Linked DNA regions of Homo sapiens: region 2 is linked to region 1. The links are contacts of gene promoters, found by promoter capture Hi-C in human tissues and cell types (Jung and others, 2019). All regions are on one chromosome and are shown on one strand. Each heading gives the region's core, a stretch centred on a gene start or on the middle of the fragment in contact. The rest is flanking DNA. Distances are from core to core; before and after follow the strand shown.

Region 1 (4,191 bases), core at 1,412-3,911:
TGAACTCTTGACCACAGGTGATCCACCCACCTTGGCCTCTCAAAGTTCTGGGATTACAAGCGTGAGCCACCACGCCCGGCCCTCTGTGGCTTTCTTAAAGCCTCAGCAGCCTGAGAAGGGATGTCCCCAGGACCGAGCTGTGGGGGCCCCATCTTAGCCAGGGGCACCAGCCAGGCCTCTTCCTGACCTCACTCTCCCAAGACCCCCCTCCTTAGGCCCCAGGCTGGGAAGACTCTGTCCTATGTCCAGCCGACCGTGGGTGGCTGATCTCTGGAATTAGCCAGGCCCTATAGGCTGGCCTGCCTGGGAGGGGGGCTCTGGGCCAATACCTAGAGAGGGCCCTGCTCCTGTAACTGCCCATCCAGGCCCACTAAGCCTCTTGCCTGGCTTCGGGAGCGCTGCAGGCTTTGGGGACACATTCTCCTTGTGGCTGGCATCAGACCTTAGCTCCATGGGCTCAGGGACAGGAGTATCCTTGGTCCACTCCACAGTGAGTGGCCTGGTCTGTTTAATCAGATGGGCCCTGCGGGGAGAGGACAGGTTGCCCTGGCTCTCATTCAACCCCACCCCATTCTGATCCCTACCTCCTCCCTTTAGCAGTACTCCTAGCTGCTCTTGGCCTGGTCCCAGCTGCCTGGGGCCTGCCCCTCACTGTTCTGGTCTCTCAGTGGCTCCTCTCCCTGCCCTACTTATCACCCCCCTTTCCATATTAAGTGTCCAGGTCAAATGCTGCCCCATCCTGCCCCCCAGACCTCTCGGCTGATCTGCATACAGGTCTGAACATGCAGGTCCAGCGACCTCCTCCACGCCTACCCGGATGTCTAACAGGCATCTCAGCATTAATATGTCCAAAACTGAACTCCAGCCGTCCTCGCAACCAGCTCTCTCCCATCTTGGTGCCCCCCTTTTCCACGGATGGCAGCTCCGGCCTTCTGGTGGCTCAAACAAAAATCCTGGAGCCACCCCGATTCCCCTTCTCCCTCACACCAGTGGCTGCTCTGACAGGCTCTGCCTCCCACACGCATCCAGGATCTGACCCCTGGAGCACTGGGCGGAGTGGCCCTCACCTGCCACCTCCCAACTGGTCACCCTTATTCTGCCTCGTCCTCACGCCCGACAGCCTCCTCTTCATGCGGCGGCAGGGTGATCCTGTAAACACTGAAATCAAATCATGCCCTGCCTCAACTCTAATGCCACAGAAGCTCTCCAGCCCCCTCAATGCCCCGTGAGCCTTCAAGGCTGTAGGCCAGAGGTTAGCAAATTACTGCCTGGGCCAGTGGTCTATTATGTGAATAAAGTTATATTGAAACAAAGCCCATTTGTTTACAGACTGTCTGCTTTCCAGCTGCAATAGCAGAGCTCAATAGCTGCAAGATACCTTAGGCTGCAAAACCTTTTTTTTTTTTTTTTTGAGCCGGAGTCTCACTTTGCCACCCAGGCTGGTACAATGGCGTGATCCCGGCTCACTGCAACCTCCGCCTGCCTCCCTGGGCTCAAGGGATCCTCCCACCTCAGCCTCTAACAAGCTGGAACCACAGGCACATGCCACCACGCCAGACTAATTTTTCTATTTTTTGGTAGAGACAGGGTTTCACCATGATGGCCAGGATGGTCTCGAACTCCTGACCTCAGGTGATTGGCCCGCCTCGGCCTCCCAAAGTGCTGGGATTACAGGCGTGAGCCACCACACCCAGCCCCGCAAAGTCTTTAAAATCTGGCTGCCAGTTATGGTCCTCCCCAATTCCTCTTCCCCTTGCCCACTGTCCTCCACACACACCAGCCCCCTGGCTGCTCCTCCAAATGGCACACACGACCTCACCTCAGCGCCTCTGTGCTGCTGTCCCCTCTGCCTTCAAGTCTTGCCTCCCACATCACAGTGAGCCCTCCCTGCCCACTGTCTCTCCAACTGCAGCAACCTGGCCTCTCCTCACTCTCTTTGCCCTGCACTTGCGGCCACCTAACATAGTGAAGAAATTAGTGTATTTCTCCCTCCAGTGGCCTAGGAGCCACACGAGGGCAGGCTGGTTTTTTTTGTTTGTTTGTTTCCCTGCTGGATTTGCAGCCCATAGAACAATGCCTGACCCCCAGCAGGGGCTTGTAAATGCACATTGAATAAATGACAACCGTGCTAGGCACCTTGCAGCCTTCAGCAGGCGTCCTGCCATTTAATCTGCACTGCAGCCCTGGGACTTAGGTTCCCTGTTTTAGAAATGAGGACAGGAGCTTAGAAGGGCCTGTCCCACCCAAGGCCTCAGAGGGAGCACCCCAGGGCTGGCTCCACAGCGCAGACTCCTAACCAAGAACACCCCACCATCCCCTCTTGCCCAAGTTGACTTGAGGCCGCTCAATCCACAGGAGACCTTCCTGCACCCCTGCCCCTCACGCCGGAGCTCTTCGGTCCATTTCTCCGCTCCTCGTCCGTCTCCCTCAGACTCCCCCCTCCCACTCCACCCCCACCCCTGTCCACTTAAGGGGGCTCACAGCCTCCCTCCTCTTGCCACCAAAAGAGTCTGAGGTCAGTTTCCTGCCCTCATGGATCTGCCCTCACGTGCGTGGGTCCTCCTCGGGTCCTCCTTCACCCAGTCGGATTTGAATCTAGACGGGGGCTGGGACCGCTAACGATCCCCGCAGGTCGGCAGGTCGCGGGCGGGAGGGGACGTCGGAGAGCAGAGCGTGCTGCCCCGCGCTTGGCCCCGCCCAGCCCTGAGCCGTGGGCGTGGCCACCGACGTCCTGGTACAGGTTTTGCCGGGTCCTCCGCAGGCAAGGCACGTGGTCCCAGGGCAACTTTTGCACGTGCAAGATGAGCGACATTCTCTTGGCCATCAGGTCCCCGGGAACCTCCTCCACCCTCTGCCCCGAATCCTGTGGCAGCATCACTGGGGTCTGGGCTTCCTCCACCAGGCGTGCCTCCTCTTGGCTCCTTCCCGCACCTAGAGCTGCCTCCTGGAGCCCCCGCACATCTGGGATACCCCCAGCCATGTCCCCACCACCTATGCCTCTTGGGGCTGCAGGACATGCCCCCGGCTCCCACTGGTAGGAACCCCAGGGGCAGGACATCCGGGTCATGGACACTCACATCCTCACCCGTTCCCAATAGGTGCGATGTCCCATCCAGGGATGTCTCAGATGCAGCTGGCAAACCATGGCCCTCATGGCTGAGGACACACCCGTGATGGGACCCCAGGATCTGGGGGGCAGCCACCACCCTGATCACCACCTGGAATGCCTCATCCTGGACCTCCTCCAATGAGCATGTCCCCCAAGGGGTCTCGGTCTGGATCTCCCATGGGTCACTCACGTCCTATGCCTCCATGGTATGTGTGGACCTCCTCCACCGATGCTGCCTCATGGATACACTGGCCCTCCCCAACACCCACCCTATGGCTTCCGGGGGGGACTCTCCCTCCACCCAGACCCACTCCGGGGCCTCCAGTTCCCCCTCAAGGCCCACTTTGGGGCCCTCTCCCTCAGTAAATTCACATTCTTCTTCCTCCTGTTATATCTTCCCAATATCTTTTTGATTCCTTGGACCAGAGATGCTGCAGCTCCTTGCAACTAAGGCACAAATCCCTTTCAGCCTTCCCATCTTCCTTTTTAATGCCATTTTTTTCCCCATAGAAGGTATTTCTTTTTCATGTTGGTCCTAAGTATTTTGCAAATGCAAAGGAAAATAAAACTATAACAAATTTCTTGTTAAAAGAAAGAAAGAAAGAAAGGCTAGGCACAGTGGCTCACACCTGTAATCCCAGCACTTTGGGAGGCTGAGGTGGACGGATCACAAGATCAGGAGTTCAAGACCAGCCTGGCCAACATGGTGAAACCCTGTCTCTACTAAAAATACAAAAATTAGCCGGGCATGGTGGCGGGCACCTGTAATCCCAGCTACTCAGGAGGCTGAGGCAGGAGAATCACTTGAACCTGGGAGGCAAGGGTTGCAGAGAGCCAAGATCCTGCCATTGCACTCCAGCCTGAGCAACAGACCAAGACTCTGTCTCAAAAAAAAAAAAAAAAAAAAAAGAAAAAAAGAAAAGAAAAGAAAAGGCTGGATGTGGTGGCTCATGCCTGTAATCCCAGCACTTTGGGAGGCCGAGGCAGCCGGATCACTTGAGGTCAGGAGTTCAAGACCAGCCTGGCCAACATGGCAAAATCCCATCTCTATTAAAAATACAAAAAGTAGCTGGTGTGATGGT
Region 2 (4,071 bases), core at 1,239-3,738, 35 kb before region 1:
CTCCATCTCAAAAAAAAAAAAAAAACAACACCCCACAAAAGAGGGATATTTACTAACAGGATTCCAGAGGGCAGGGAACCCAAGATCAGGAGATGGCCTCAGACCTCACAAGGCACTGGAAGAGGTCAAAAAGCAAGGCCCTCCCTCATTCCCTCTGGGGCCACAGGGTCCCCCATCTCCGCTTCCCACTGCACATCTGTGCTTCATCTGGGAGACCTGATACCCATGCTTTTCCACACACCTGGCCTGCTCCTGAGTGTGCAGAGTGTCAGTTCCAGCCAGTTCCCCAGGCTAATGGACAGGCCTCCGTTCCAAATTCCCAGGAAAGAGAATCACCATTGGCCACAGCCACAAGACCAGGTTCCCCCAACAGAAATGGGTGGGTTGGACTTCTCTCCCACCCTTGAAGCTGAAGGCTGGCATTGAGCCCTCAGCGTCTCAGACAGCGCTCAGGTATGGCAAGACAGTGTGCACCAGGGACAGGAAGTCCCGGGATTGGCACATTTTCTGGGATGACAGTTTTTTTGCCAATATTCTGGGAGAAATCCTACCATTTTTATATTAAACATGGCTATGTTATGGAGTAGCATCTAAAGTGATATGAACTAAAAAAAAAAGGCCAGGTGCGGTGGCTGAAGCCTATAATCCCAGCACTTTGGGAGGCCAAGGCGGGTGGATCATGAGATCAGGAGTTTGAGACCATCCTGTCCAACATAGTGAAACCCCGTCTCTACTAAAAATACAAAAATTAGCCGGGCATGGTGGCGCGTGCCTGTAGTCCCAGCTACTTGGTAGGCTGAGGCAGGAGAATCGCTTGAACCCAGGAGGCGGAGCTTGCAGTGAGCCGAGATCGCACCAATGCACTGTAGCCTGGGCAACAGAGCCAGACTCCGTCTCAAAAAAAACAAAACAAAAAACCCAAAAAACAAACCACGTGGCTTCAAGAAAATTACATGTTGTGAGTAACTTTGGCCTTGTCCCTAACCCCCGATGGACATGTCCATTCTGTCAACAGGGGTGTTTAGGTGCTAAGTCTGGGAAGCACTGATTAGGAGTCAGAGAACAGACATTTCCAACTGTTAAATTGTCATCGCTTGTATCAGCCATTATATAGTCAGTTACTGGGGGAATATGCACCCGTGATGGGCGTTAGGTGATAATGATTGGAAACTAGTGAAGCTGTGAGCTCACAGTTGCTGAATGGTTTCTTACTTTGCTTATCAAGTGGGTAATGAAGATGAGTGGATTAGAAAACACCAACCTGTTGGGCATGGTAGCTCATGCCTGTAATCCCAGAGCTTTGGGAGACTGAGGCAGGAGATCAAGACCAGCCTGGGCAACACAGTGAGACCGTGTCTCTACAAAAAATAAAAACATTTTAAAAAAGAAAGCCCTCAGCTGTTCATGATAGAAAAATAGAGTAAATAGCAAAATCTATACGTAATCAAATGCTAGATTTGTTCGGTGATATTTAGGTATTGTAGCTATACTTTTCAGCTATTAAAAAGCCTTGTTGTTTCTGAAATTCCTACTGGGAAAATAGCTTTGTTATTGCAAGTGTGAAGCCCCATTGCTTTATCCCCCACTCCCTTACCCCTTGAAACAATAGTTTTTATATTCATTTTTTGATGACTCTGGGTTTCTTAAGAACGGAACTGCCTTATCAGAGCAAAGCAGCTTGGCCTTCCGCCTGGCTCAGAGTCCTGCCCTGGGCTTGGGCTGATGAAACCAGCACTCCATGTAGTTTCATGAAGGCCTATGGTCATCCTGCTTGCCTGACCGAGCAAGGCGGCTAGTAAGTTTAGTCATTGAGGAAAGGGGTCAGAGAGTTCACAGAGCCAGTAAGGAGCCTATGGGACATCTGATCCCACCTCCTAAGCAATTCTGGAATCTTGTCTTCAGCATCCACTGCCCCTGTGTTTTCAGACTCCAGGAGCTCATTGTTTTGTGAGTGGCTTATAGTACTCTAGCCAGCTCTCTGAACCGGATGCTGGTTCTGCCATTAGAAACAACACAGAATATGACTAATAAAGAACTTCACTAGGGGGCTGGGTACAGTGGCTCATGCCTGTAATCTCAGCACTTTGGGAGGCCAAGGTGGGAGGATTGCTTGAGCCCAGAAGTTCCAGACAAACCTGGACAAGATAGCAAGACCCCATCTCTAAAAAATAAATAATTAATTAAAAAAATTTTTTTTAATTAGCCAGATGTGGTGGCTTGCATCTGTAGTCCAAGCTACTCAGGAGACTGAAGTGGGAGATCACTTGTGCCCGGGAGTTCAAGGCTACAGTGAGCCATGATTGTATCACTGCACTCTAGCCTGGGTGACAGAGCAAGACCCTGTCTCTGAAACAAAACAAAACAAACTCACCTATGGTGGATCCTTTTTCCCCAGGACAGACCTTTGGACATTTGAAAGGAGTTTCTGTATTCTTTTCATTCTTTTTTTTTTTTTTTTTTTTGAGACGGAGTTTCGCTCTCGTTGCCCAGGCTAGAGTGCAATGGTACGATCTCGGCTCACTGCAACCTCTGTCTCGTGGGTTCAAGCAATTTTCCTGACTCAGCCTCCTGAGTAGCTATTACAGGCATACACCACCACACCTGGCTAATTTTTGTATTTTTGGTAGAGACGGGGTTTTACCATGTTGGCCAGGCTGGTCTCGAACTCCTGACCTCAGGTCATCCTCCTGCCTTGGCCTCCCAAAGTGCTGGGATTACAGACATGAGCCACCGCACCCTGCCATCCATTATTTTCTTTGAAGAAAACATCACTTTCTTCAGTTCTTCCTTGTGTAACTTGGTTTTTAGCTTTTCACTATCTTGGACCCCTGAGTAATTTCAGTGTTACATTAAAAACAATGTTTAATCCGGTGCCTAGAGAAAAGTCAAGCTTACTACCCCAGATGCTGCCCAGCCAGTGCTAACTGTAGCATTTTCTCTTTTCTATGGCCACCAAGTGCAGGCCTGATTTGCTTGGCTGCTCAAGGCAGGACAGTGTGGGAGTTTGGAGCAATCCACCCCCACTCTTGGAACTGGGCTCTGAGCCACCTCCCCTGAGAGTCATCTCTGGGGTCAGAAGCATATCAGTCATGAGCCCAGCCACTCACTGTTTTAGTTCAGGCTGTGCTGTGCTGTTGGAAGGTGCAAGATCAGAGCCCCCAAAGCAGAGGACTCTCTCTGCCCAGTCCCTGTGGTCTCTTCATCCCTCGCCTTGAACAGGTGGAGGCCAGCCTCTCCTGACTGTCATCCCTATTGGCAGGTTACCCCAAAGGCCACCCCGAAGCAGGGAGCTTTGAGGCTGACCTGAAGCACTTGAAGGAGAAGGTGTCTGCGGGAGCCGATTTCATCATCACGCAGCTTTTCTTTGAGGCTGACACATTCTTCCGCTTTGTGAAGGCATGCACCGACATGGGCATCACTTGCCCCATCGTCCCCGGGATCTTTCCCATCCAGGTGAGGGGCCCAGGAGAGCCCATAAGCTCCCTCCACCCCACTCTCACCGCACCGTCCTCGCACAGGCTGGGGGCTCTGGGTGGAGTGCTGAGTTCGCTGAGTTCTTCCCAGATCTCCTCTCAGGTCCAGAACTTGCACAGCGTTGCTTGGCCACCCCATTTTGGTTACCTCTAATTTTCCCCCCAAAACCCAGCAACAGTGTCTGTTGAGGGGTTTGTTGTACTTTGGCCAACAAGCATCACCAAAAGGGATTCTAATTCTCATTACAAATCCTGCTTAAATCAGTGTTTCCCAAAGGTGGCTGTCATCAGAACCACTTGATAAGCTTTTTCAAAAAGTGGATCTCCAGGTCCCACCCCTGGAGGTTCTCACTCAGTAAATCTGAGGGAGGTCCTCGGAATGTGTGTTTTACTTCTTGAGCTTGGCAGGTGATTCGGATGATCAGTGCAGCATGGGAACAGCTGGGTTAGATGACACCATGTTACCAACAGACACATCTAGGGCTAAAAGGCTGGCTCAACCCAAGGCTGGAATGCTTAGGGCAGCTGCTCTACTCTGTAAAAAGTGGGAAAGCTGGGCATAGTGGCACGTGCCTGTAGTCCCGGCTACTTGAGAAGC

The links. Contacts are between HindIII fragments. The study calls those that stand out against the background at their distance.
Region 2: a fragment that was not itself captured here is called in contact with the fragment with the promoter of C1orf167 in region 1 in 3 of the 25 tissues and cell types used here (H1 embryonic stem cells, pancreas and spleen).

Annotation. Positions count from the first base shown.
Region 1 is chr1:11,760,663-11,764,853 of GRCh38, reverse strand. It overlaps C1orf167 (chromosome 1 open reading frame 167), which reads right to left and starts at 2,661. Exons shown (of 21, transcript NM_001010881.2): 1 at 2,549-2,661; 2 at 384-523. The coding sequence starts at 453. It also overlaps the pseudogene LOC101060126. The HindIII fragment of the contact is 8,265 bases long and covers 1-4,191 here.
Region 2 is chr1:11,795,588-11,799,658 of GRCh38, reverse strand. It overlaps MTHFR (methylenetetrahydrofolate reductase), which reads left to right. Exons shown (of 12, transcript NM_005957.5): 5 at 3,260-3,453. Among named protein-coding and RNA genes, the nearest start is that of MTHFR, 8.3 kb to the left of the region's middle. The HindIII fragment of the contact is 7,275 bases long and covers 1-4,071 here.